2 separate regions of the Homo sapiens genome follow, and region 1 is linked to region 2. Evidence: promoter capture Hi-C in human tissues and cell types (Jung and others, 2019). All regions are on one chromosome and are shown on one strand. The core of a region is centred on a gene start or on the middle of the fragment in contact, and the rest is flanking DNA. Distances in the headings are between cores, read along the strand shown. Region 1 overlaps LOC100288254 (a long non-coding RNA gene). Region 2 holds the start of ERGIC1 (endoplasmic reticulum-golgi intermediate compartment 1).

Evidence for each region. The method cuts DNA at HindIII sites, captures the fragments that hold promoters and counts their contacts. A contact is called where the count stands out against the background at its distance.
Region 1: a contact is called between a fragment that was not itself captured here and the fragment with the promoter of ERGIC1 in region 2, in 1 of the 25 tissues and cell types used here (dorsolateral prefrontal cortex).

The regions. Positions count from the first base shown.
Region 1 is chr5:172,288,227-172,292,836 of GRCh38, forward strand. The region is part of intron 1 of LOC100288254 (a long non-coding RNA gene); the gene reads left to right. Among named protein-coding and RNA genes, the nearest start is that of UBTD2, 6.8 kb to the left of the region's middle. The HindIII fragment of the contact is 5,319 bases long and covers 1-3,938 here.
Region 2 is chr5:172,831,521-172,836,560 of GRCh38, forward strand. ERGIC1 (endoplasmic reticulum-golgi intermediate compartment 1) reads left to right here and starts at 2,731. Exons shown (of 10, transcript NM_001031711.3): 1 at 2,731-2,913. The coding sequence starts at 2,894. RefSeq lists silencers at 2,584-2,983, 3,354-3,403, 3,414-3,493 and enhancers at 3,477-4,469, 3,964-4,173, 4,470-5,040. The HindIII fragment of the contact is 25,389 bases long and covers 1-5,040 here.

The sequences.
Region 1 (4,610 bases), core at 29-2,528, 540 kb before region 2:
TCTTTTTTTTTTTTTTGAGACGGAGTCTCCCTCTGTCACCCAGGCTAGAGTGCACTGGCACAATCTCAGCTCTCTGCAACCTCGCAGTTGAAGTGATTCTCCCACCTCGGCCTCCCGAGCAGCTGGGACTACAGGTGTGCACCACCATGCCCAGCTAATTTTTTGTATTTTTAGTAGAGATGGGGTTTCACCATGTTACTCAACCTTCCAGGCTCAAGCAATCCTCCCACCTCCCCCCGCCTCCCCCCCGCCAACCCGCCACCCGCCGCCAACACACACAATACCCAGTAGCTGAGACTAACTTCATTCCTCTTTATGGACAATATTCCATTGTATGGATGTACCACATTTTGTTTATCCTTTCATCAGTTGGTGGTTATTTGGATTGTTTCCATTTTTTGGGTATTGGAATAAAGCTGCTATGAACATTCCTGTACAAGCTTTTGTGTAGCCATATGTTTTTAATTGTCTTGGATTTATACCTAGGAATGGAATTGCTTGGTCATATGGTAACCCTGTTTAACTTTCTGAAAAATTGGCAAATTGTTTCCAAAGTGGTTTTGACTTGATTTTCCTAATGGCTAATAATGTTGAGCATCTTTTTATGTACTTATAGGCCACTTGTATATCTATTTTGGAAAAATGTCTACTCAAGATACTTGCTCATTTTTTTTTTTTTTTGAGATGAAGTCTCGCTCTGTAGCCCAGGCTGGAGTGCAGTGGCATGATCTTGGCTCATTGAAACCTCTGCCTCCCAGGTTTAAGTGATCCTCCCGCCTCAGCCTCCTGAGTGGCTGGGATTACGGATGCCTACCACCATGACTGGCTAATTTTTGTATTTTTAGTAGACACGGAGTTTTGCCATGTTGGCCAGGCTGGTCTCGAACTCCTGACCTCAAGTGATCTGGCCGCCTTGGCCTCCCAAAGTGCTGGGATTACAGGTGTGAACCACTACACCCAGCCTATTGCAGGTTTTTTACTTTTGTGTGTGTGTGTGTGTGTGTGTGAGACGGAGTCTTGCTCTGTCACCTAGGGTGGAGTGCAGTGACGTGATTTTGGCTCACTGCAACCTCTGTCTCCTGAATTCAAGTGATTCTCCTACCTCAGCCTCCCAAGTAGCTGGGATACCAGGCACCTGCCACCACGCCTGGCTAATTTTTTCTCTTTTTTTTTTTTAGATGAAGTATCACTCTGTTGCCCAACCTAGAGTGCAGTGGTGCAATCATAGCTCACTGCAGCCTTGAACTCCTGGCTCAAGCAATCCTCCCACTTCAGTCTACCAAGTAGCTGGGTCTACAGGTGCACACCACCATGCCCAGCTAACTTAAAAAATTTCTTTTTGGGCTGGGCACGGTGGCTCACACCTGTAATCCCAGCAATTTGGGAGGCCGAGGTGGGTGGGATCACCTGAGGTCAGGAGTTCAAGACCAGCCTGGCCAACATGGTGAAACTCTGTCTCTACTAAAAATACAAAATTAGCTGGACGTGGTGGCACATGCCTGTAATCCCAGCTACTTGGGAGGCTGAGGCAGGAGAATCGCTTGAATCCGGAAGGCAGAGGTTGTGGTGAGCCAACATCTCGCCATTGTACTCCAGCCTGGGCAACAAGAGCGAAACTCCATCTCAAAAAAAAAAATTCTTTTTGTAGAGATAGGGTCTTGTTATGTTGCCTAGGCTGATCTCGAACGACTGAGATCAAGTGATCCTCCTGCCTCAGCCTCCCAAAGTGCCGGGGTTACAGGTGTGAGCCACCACACCTGGCTTAACTTTCTTTTCTTTTTTTTTGTTTTAATTTTGGAGACGGGATCTTGCTCTGTTGCCCAGGCTGGAGTGCAATGGCACAATCTTGGCTCACGGCAGCCTTAACCTTCCAGGCTCAAATGATCTTCTCACCTCAGCCTTTCTAGTAGCTGGGACTACAGCTGCATGCCACCATGCCTGGCTAATTTTCTTTATATTTTGTAGAGACAGGGTCTCACTATGCTGCCCAGGCTGGTCTTAAACTCTGGCCTCAAGTGATCCTCCCGCCTCAGCCTCCCAAAGTGTTGGAATTACAAGCGTGAACCAATGCTCCTTGCTTAACCCTCTTGATAGTGTCTTTTGAAGCACAAAAGGTAGTTTCCTTTTTTTGTTTGTTTTTTTTTTTTTTGGAGATGGGGGTCTCACTATGTTACCCAGGCTAGACTCTGACTCCTGGGCCCAATCCATACTTCCACCTCAGCCTCCTGAAGAATTGGGACCACAGTCATGGACCACTGCACCAGCTGATTTTAATGAAGTCCATTTAACCTATTTTTTTCTTTGATTGCTTGTGCTTTGGGGCTCATATCTAAGAAACCATTGTTGGCTGGGTGCAGTGGCCCGTGCCTATAACTCCAGCACTTTGGGAGGCAAAATGCCTTGAACCCCAGAGTTCAAGACCAGCCTGGACAACATAATGAGACCCTGTATCTACAAAAAAAATTTAAAGAATTAGCTAGGCATGGTGCTGTGTGCCTGTGGTCCCAGCTACTTGGGAGGCTGAGATGGGAGGATCACTTGAGAATGGAAGGTCGAAGCTTCAGTGAGCCATGATCATGCCATTGCACTCCAGCCTGGGTGACAAAGCAATATACCATGTCCGAAAAAGAAAAAGAAAGAAAAACAAAAAGAAACCATTGTCTAAGGCCATGGAGATTTACACTCTAAGAGTTTTATACTTTTAGCACTTACATTTAGGTCTTTGATCTGTTTTGAATTAATATTTTTATTGTGGTAAAATACATATAACATGAAATAACTTATTTTTATTTTTTATAAATGTATTTGAACTAAAGATGGGATTTTGCTATGTTGCTTAAGCTGGTCTTTAACTTCTGGCCTCAAGCAATCCTCCCACCTTGGCCTCCTACAGTTCTGGGATTAGAGGTGTGAGCTACTGCACCCAGCCTGACTTAATATTTATAAATGATGTAAAGTAGGGATCCAACTTCATTCTTTTGCATGTGGATTTCCAGTGTCCCAGCATCATTTGTTGAAAAGATTATTCTATCCACCCCCGCCCACCTTTTTTTTTTTTTTGAGATAGAGTTGTGCTCTTGTTGCCTGGGCTGGAGTGCAATGGCACGATCTCGGCTCACTGCAACTTTCGCCTCCCAGGTTTGAGTAATTCTCCTGCCACAGCCCCCCAAGTAGCTGGGATTACAGGAATGCACCACCATGCCCAGCTAATTTTGTATTTTTAGTAGAGACAGGGTTTCACTATGTTGGCCAGGCTGGTCTCGAACTCCTGACCTCGAGTGATCCACCCACTTTGGCCTCCCAAAGTGCTGGGATTACAGGCGTGAGCCACCACCTCCGGCCATTCTTTCCCCATTGAATTGTCTTGATGCCCTTGTCAAAAATCAATTGACCATAAATGTTAGAGTTTATTTCTGACTGTCAGTTTTATTTCATTGATCTTTTATGTCATGATTATGCGAGTACTACACTGTCTTAATTACTGTAGTTTTACAGTAAGTTTTGAAGCTGGGAAATTCAAGGTTGTATTGTCCTCTTTATGTACTGTTGCATTCTATTTGCTAACTTTTTTTTTTCAGAATCATAAACAGCTCTTTTATTTCTATATTAAAATGATTTTTGTGGCATATTTAGCAATTTAAAAAAATTGTTATTTTAGGTTTGGGGGTACATGTGAAGGTTTGTTACATAGGTAAACACGTGTCATAGGGGTTTGTTGTACATATTATTACATCACCCAGGTATTAAGCCCAGTACCCACTAGTTAGCTTTTCTGCTCCTCCCCCTCCTCCCACTCTCCCTCCTCCAGTAGACCTGTGTCTGTTGTTTCCTCCTTTTTTTTCTTTCTTTCTTTTTTTTGAGACAACGTCTTGCTCTGTCACCCCTGGAGTGCAGTGGCATGATCTCAGCTCACTGCAAACTCCGCCTCCCAGGTGCAAGTGATTCTCCTGCCTCAGCCTCCTGAGTAGCTGGGATTATAAGTGCTCACCATCACGCCCGGCTAATTTTTGTATTTTTAGTAGAGATGGGGTTTCACCATGTTGGCCAGGCTGGTCTCAAACTCCTGACCTCAGGTGATCCGCCCGCCTCAGCCTCCCAAAGTGTTGGGATTACAGGCTGAGCCACCGTGCCTGGCCTGTTTCCTTCTTTTGTTTCCTTCTTTGTGTTCATAAGCTCTTACCATTTAGCCCTTATAACATTTTGTTCTAAATTATTGCATCTCTGGTTATGAATATTTGCCTATAATTTTTTTTTGAGACGTAGTTTCGCTCTTGTTGCTTGAACCGCCTCCCAGGTTCAAGCACTTCTCCTGCCTCAGCCTCCCAAGTAGCTGGGATTATAGGCATGAGCTACCATGCCTGACTTTTTTTTTTTTTTTTTGAGACAGAGTCTCGCTCTGTCACCCAGGCTGGAGTGCAGTGGCATGATCTCGGCTCACTGCTCGGCTCACTGCAACCTCTGCCTCCCGGGTTCGGGCAATTCTCCTGCCTCAGCCTCCCGAGTAGCTGGGATTACAGGCATGTGCCACCAAGCCTGGCTAATTTTTGCATTTTTAGTAGAGACAGGGTTTCACCATGTTAGCCAGGATGGTCTCGATCTCCTGACCTCAT
Region 2 (5,040 bases), core at 1,481-3,980:
GCTGTTCTGTTGGTAAGGCCTGCCTCCGTGGGAAGGCCTGCCTCCCTGGGAAGCCTCTATTCAAACTTCAACGCATAGTTAGTGCATCCCCAGCATGTGCAGGGTCTGGCTGGATGCTAGGATATGATGGTGATACCACCTTGTCTCAGGGAACTTTCCTTTTTTTTTTTAAATTATACTTTAGGTTCTGGGATACATGTGCAGAACGTGCAGTTTTGTCACACAGGCATACACGTGCCATTTGTGTATGGCATCATTGTTTGTGTACCCATCAACCCGTCATCTACATTAGGTATTTCTCCTAATGCTATCCCTCCCCTAGCCCCCTACCCCCCGACAGGCCCCTCTCAGGGAACTTTCACTCAGATGGGGTAGTAGTTACTAGCGAATTAATAATAACCTAATCACACGTCATGCCCAGTTCTCCCAAGGAAACCTACAAGGTACCATGCGATTATGTAATAGGGGACTGGCCTAGTCCATGAGCATTGGGGCAGTCAAGTAGCTAGCCAGGCTGCATAGGTGTATCAGCATTGGGTTTAGGTGTAAGTGTCTGAAAATACAGAATAACAATAGCTTAAATAAGATAGATGTTTGTTTCTCTTGGGCAGGTGTTTGAGGACAGGTATTTTGCCACTTAGAGACAGGAACTCAGGTTTTTTTTTTTTTTTTTTGAGACAGAGTCTCACTCTGTCGCACAGGCTGGAGGGCAGTGGTGTGATCTGGGCTCACTGCAACCTCTGCCTCCCAGGTTCAGGCGATTCTCCTGCCTCAGCCTCCTGAGTAGCTGGGATTACAGGCGTGTGGCACCACGCCCGGCTAATTTTTGTATTTTTAGTAGAGACAGGGTTTCACCACATGTTGGTCAGGCTGGTCTCGAACTCCTGACCTCAGGTGATCCGCCCACCTCGGCCTCCCAAAGTGCTGCAATTACAGGTGTGAGCCACTGTGCCCGGCAGGAACTTAGGCTCTTTTTGTCTTGTTGCTCTGCTCTGTGGTGGCCTCCACCTTATGGTCCAGGATGGTGACGCCTACATTCCTGGCAGCCAGATGGAGAAAGGGACACAGAGGGTAAAGCAGACATACCAACTATCCCAGATGCCCCACAAGACACTTCCCTTTACTTCTCAATGCCACATCTAGCTACAAAGGAAGCTGGGGAAATGCAACTTTCACTGTGAGCACCCACATGCCCAGCCAAAAGTTGGGAGCTCTATCCCCACTCGAAAAGAGCAATGATAGTCAACCCTGTCTTGCATTTACTCTGTGCCAGGCATTTGCTGACCTTGGATATCATCCCAAATGCACACTTGATTCAGTAGGTCTGGCCTGGGGACAAGAGTCTGTCCTGTGATGGCCATGTGGCTGGTCTGTGGACCACAGTTTGAGGAGGGAGGATTCGAGGTCAAAGATCCATCATTGCATGTTTCCTCCCACACAGGGCCAACGAATGGCTGTTTGGAAGCAGTGGCTGCTCAAGATCCCTTAACTCTCCCTGCTGTCCCTAGGTTTCCAGTTCAGGCTGAGATTTCCTTTTCTCCCCCAACAGTGTCAGACCACTGACACTGAATGAATGAATGAATGAATGAGTGAATGAATGAAAAGGGAACGCAGAGGTCAGGTCCCGGCATATGCTCTAGGGGAAGGCTTTGGTTCACCACGTCACCCTACCCCAGACCCCGTGCTAGTGTTGTCCCTTCTGAATCCTCCCGGAGGAACCAGCACTGCTGTTCCCCTCTATTTACACAGGGGGAAACTGTCCATTGACTCTGCTTTTGGAACCCGAGCCCTCACCATTCTCCCCTGGGTTTTTTGAAGCCCTGTCCCACCACAACCTTGGAGAAAGGGCCAGTGACAGAACCTCGGGGAAGTTCAGAGTGAGTTTCCCCTACTCAGGTCTTGTGTGACCTCAACTACCATCTCCTCTAATCCAGCAGTCACGGAGGCAGCTGCTCTGTATTCCTGAGGAGGAAACTGAGGCTCTAAGAAGGAGACAATCGGCACAGTCCACGTTGGCCAAGTCACAGTGCAGGTCCCATCTGCCTCTGCCACAACCCTGCATGTTCTCGATGGACCTGGTTCAGAGCAGATGCTCTGTGAATGCCCACTGGAGTGAACGACAGGGGCAGATGGAAGCAGGGACAGCCACTGCCAGCCTCAATAGTTTCAGGTGCCTGGCACTGTGCTAAGCCAGTCTCCTGTTTCTCAGCTGATCCCCAGGAAAACCCCCTCAAGTAGGTGTCATCGTCCTCTTTGTGCAGATATGCAAAAGGGGCGGGGCGGGGGGGGGGCGCTCTGAGAAGCCCAGTGGCTTTCCCAGAGAGACACGGCAGGGGCAGAGGTGAGTCCACCTTAACAGCCTAGGATGGCCGACCTCTTCCCTTCCCCCACAGTATTAGGCCCTCACTCAGAGCTAGACGCTGTGCACGGCCAAAGTCTGTATCACCCCGCCCCCCGCCCCCAACTCAATCACAGTTCAGTGAAACTGTTTACAAATGCAAAAAACTGGGCTCGGAGAAGCAGAGAATTTGTCCGAGGGCATCCAAAGAGATGGAGAAGGAAATCTAAGTGGGAGGCTTGAAGGAATGAGTACTGGAGTCTTTGGGGGACTCCCTTCCCTTCCGACAGCCTCGACTCTCCGCCCCTTCCCTGCCTGCCCGCGGGCCCCTTTAACCGGGTGGCGGAAGGGGCGGCCGGGCGGGCGGCGCCCAATGGGCTGCGCGGAGCGTCACTTCCCGGCAGCGGGAGGCGAGTGGCGAGTGGCGAGTGGCGAGTGTCAGGGGGGCGGCCGGCGGGGGCGGGGCGGCCGGAGGAGGCGTTGGCAGCGGGCTCGGACCCACGCGGCGCCGCGGCCCGCCTGGCCTGCAGCGCTCCCACCCCCGGCGGCGGCACGATGCCCTTTGACTTCAGGAGGTGAGTGTGGCGACCCCGGCCAGTCGGGAGTTCCCTCAGCGGGCAGAGGGAGCGCCCCGGCACGCCGCGGACCCCTCCCGCCCTGCATGCAAAAGCGGCTCCCCGCCCTGTGCATGCCTCCGCAGGCCCCTAGGGACCCCAGGCGAGCCCCCCCCCTGCCGCACACGAAGCCAGCCAGAGCCGCGGAGGCCCCCTCGTGCAGCGGGAGACAAATCCACCCACCTTCCCTCCGCCGAGCCCCCTCCCCAGCCTGCCCGGATACCTTGCATTCCCCTCCCCCACACTAGGAAACATTTCCTCCCTCCTCCCAGATGGGAACAGCCCATAACACCCCAGCATCCCTCTCCTCCCTCTACTGAGCCTCCTTGGTGGACCCCACCTCAGCTGACAGGTGGGGCAGGGCACCTGGAATGAGTCCGGAGGGGCCTGGGGCCCCATGCAGCCTGCCGGCAGCTGGAGGGTTTTAAGTTTCTATAGCCTGAGGCTCCCCCAGGCCGGGCAGATCGGGAGGCCTGCCCCCGCCCCTCCCTCCCTCAGCCCCAGCCCTGTCCGCTGGGTATGGGGGCACCATGGGAAGGGGAGGAGGCGCCTTGGGCAGGACTCTGCAGAAGGGCCACCGGGGTCTGGCCTTGGCTTTCTGCAGTCACCACAATGGGTCCTTTGTGGGGTCCAGCTGCCTCATGGTCTAGGTTGCATGGGGCATTCTGGAAGCCTGCGGGGGAAGAGATCTCCACCAGAGGTTCCCTTGAGGTGTGGAGCCCCAGGGGATGTCCTGGCCTGAGGCAGCCACACTTGGTGTCTGGCTGGGAAAAGAGCAGGGCTTTAATGCAGGGAGGAGCTGGATTAGAATCCTGGCTCTGCCCTTTCTACTGAACAGCTCGGTATATTCTAGAAGTTAGGGGCAAAGGCTCTGGGTTCAGAACTCCCTGTCGCCGCTCGGCTGGCTGACCTCAGCAAGTCTCCGAGCGCCCTCAGTTTCACCACCTGCAAATTGGGGCTAAAAATAAGGTCTCCGCTTGTGACGACTGAGTGCGTGAAACACCCTTAGCAGAGTCTGGCATGATTTAGAGCTCAGAAATAGGGCATTAGTGGATGGGGGGTGTTCTCCAGGAGGGGTTTTCCACATCCACAAAATAGTGATTCAGATGCCTGTGCCACAGGAGGTATTTCTTCCCCTCTTCTTGCATGTGAAGGCAGTGTAAAGTGACAGTCTACCCAGAGAGAAAGGCCCTTAGCCTGCCATGACCCCCATAGCATGGGATATATTGGGGTTTAGGCCCAAAGAGGACACTGGTCTTGGACCTCTTGATTGGTTGACATGGTTTTCCAGCCTGTCCGGGTCCCTGATACCAGCTAGCAAATGTTTGCCGGCTTCTTGCCCCTGCCGGGCAGCCCTGAGGCTAGCAGACCTAGGCAGTTTTGAACAAGGACAGCCCCTCTGGTGGAATTCAAGGTCAGTCCTAATAGCATCAGTTAAGTCTGGGCCATAAGAGCTGTGGTCGGCACATCAATTTCTGGTTCCACAAAGCCTCCCCTTACCCAGGCCAACCATAGGGATTCGTGCCACCGCCGCCCCCTGCCCCTGTGTGATTCAGTAGGTTCCGGTGATTTTGAGCTTGCTGGGGAAATTGCTGTTTTTGATCTTTTAATCCTTTCTCCCTGCACCTCACCCTTCCGTCTTACCAAGGAGGAAATGAGGCTCCAGGGATGAGGGCCTTATCTTGGACTTTATGGGTGCTAAATGGGAAGGGTAGACTTAGGTCTCAGGTCACACATGGCTCCCAACCTTGTGCTCCTTGAATTGGTGGCTTGTGGGGGCAGGTAAGGGAAGTAAGGAAAATGGGTAAGGCCAGCTCTAGCCTTTGGCCTTGGAAGGGCCCTGTGTCAGGCATTGATATTTAAAGAGAGAAATGCTCAGCTCTGAGAAGCTGGCTAGTCTGGGGCTCCCTTGGCATACTTCAGGTCCCTGAGTGCCCAGGTGTCAGGGGGCCCAGCTTAACTAGGAAATACTCTCAGGGCTTGGGCTCACTGCGGAATGGTGAGAATGGATTCAGTGCTTCACGTTTGCACCTTGGAGGATGAGCCATGTGTGCCCAGCAAACCTGCACTCTTTAAGCTCTGTGAACT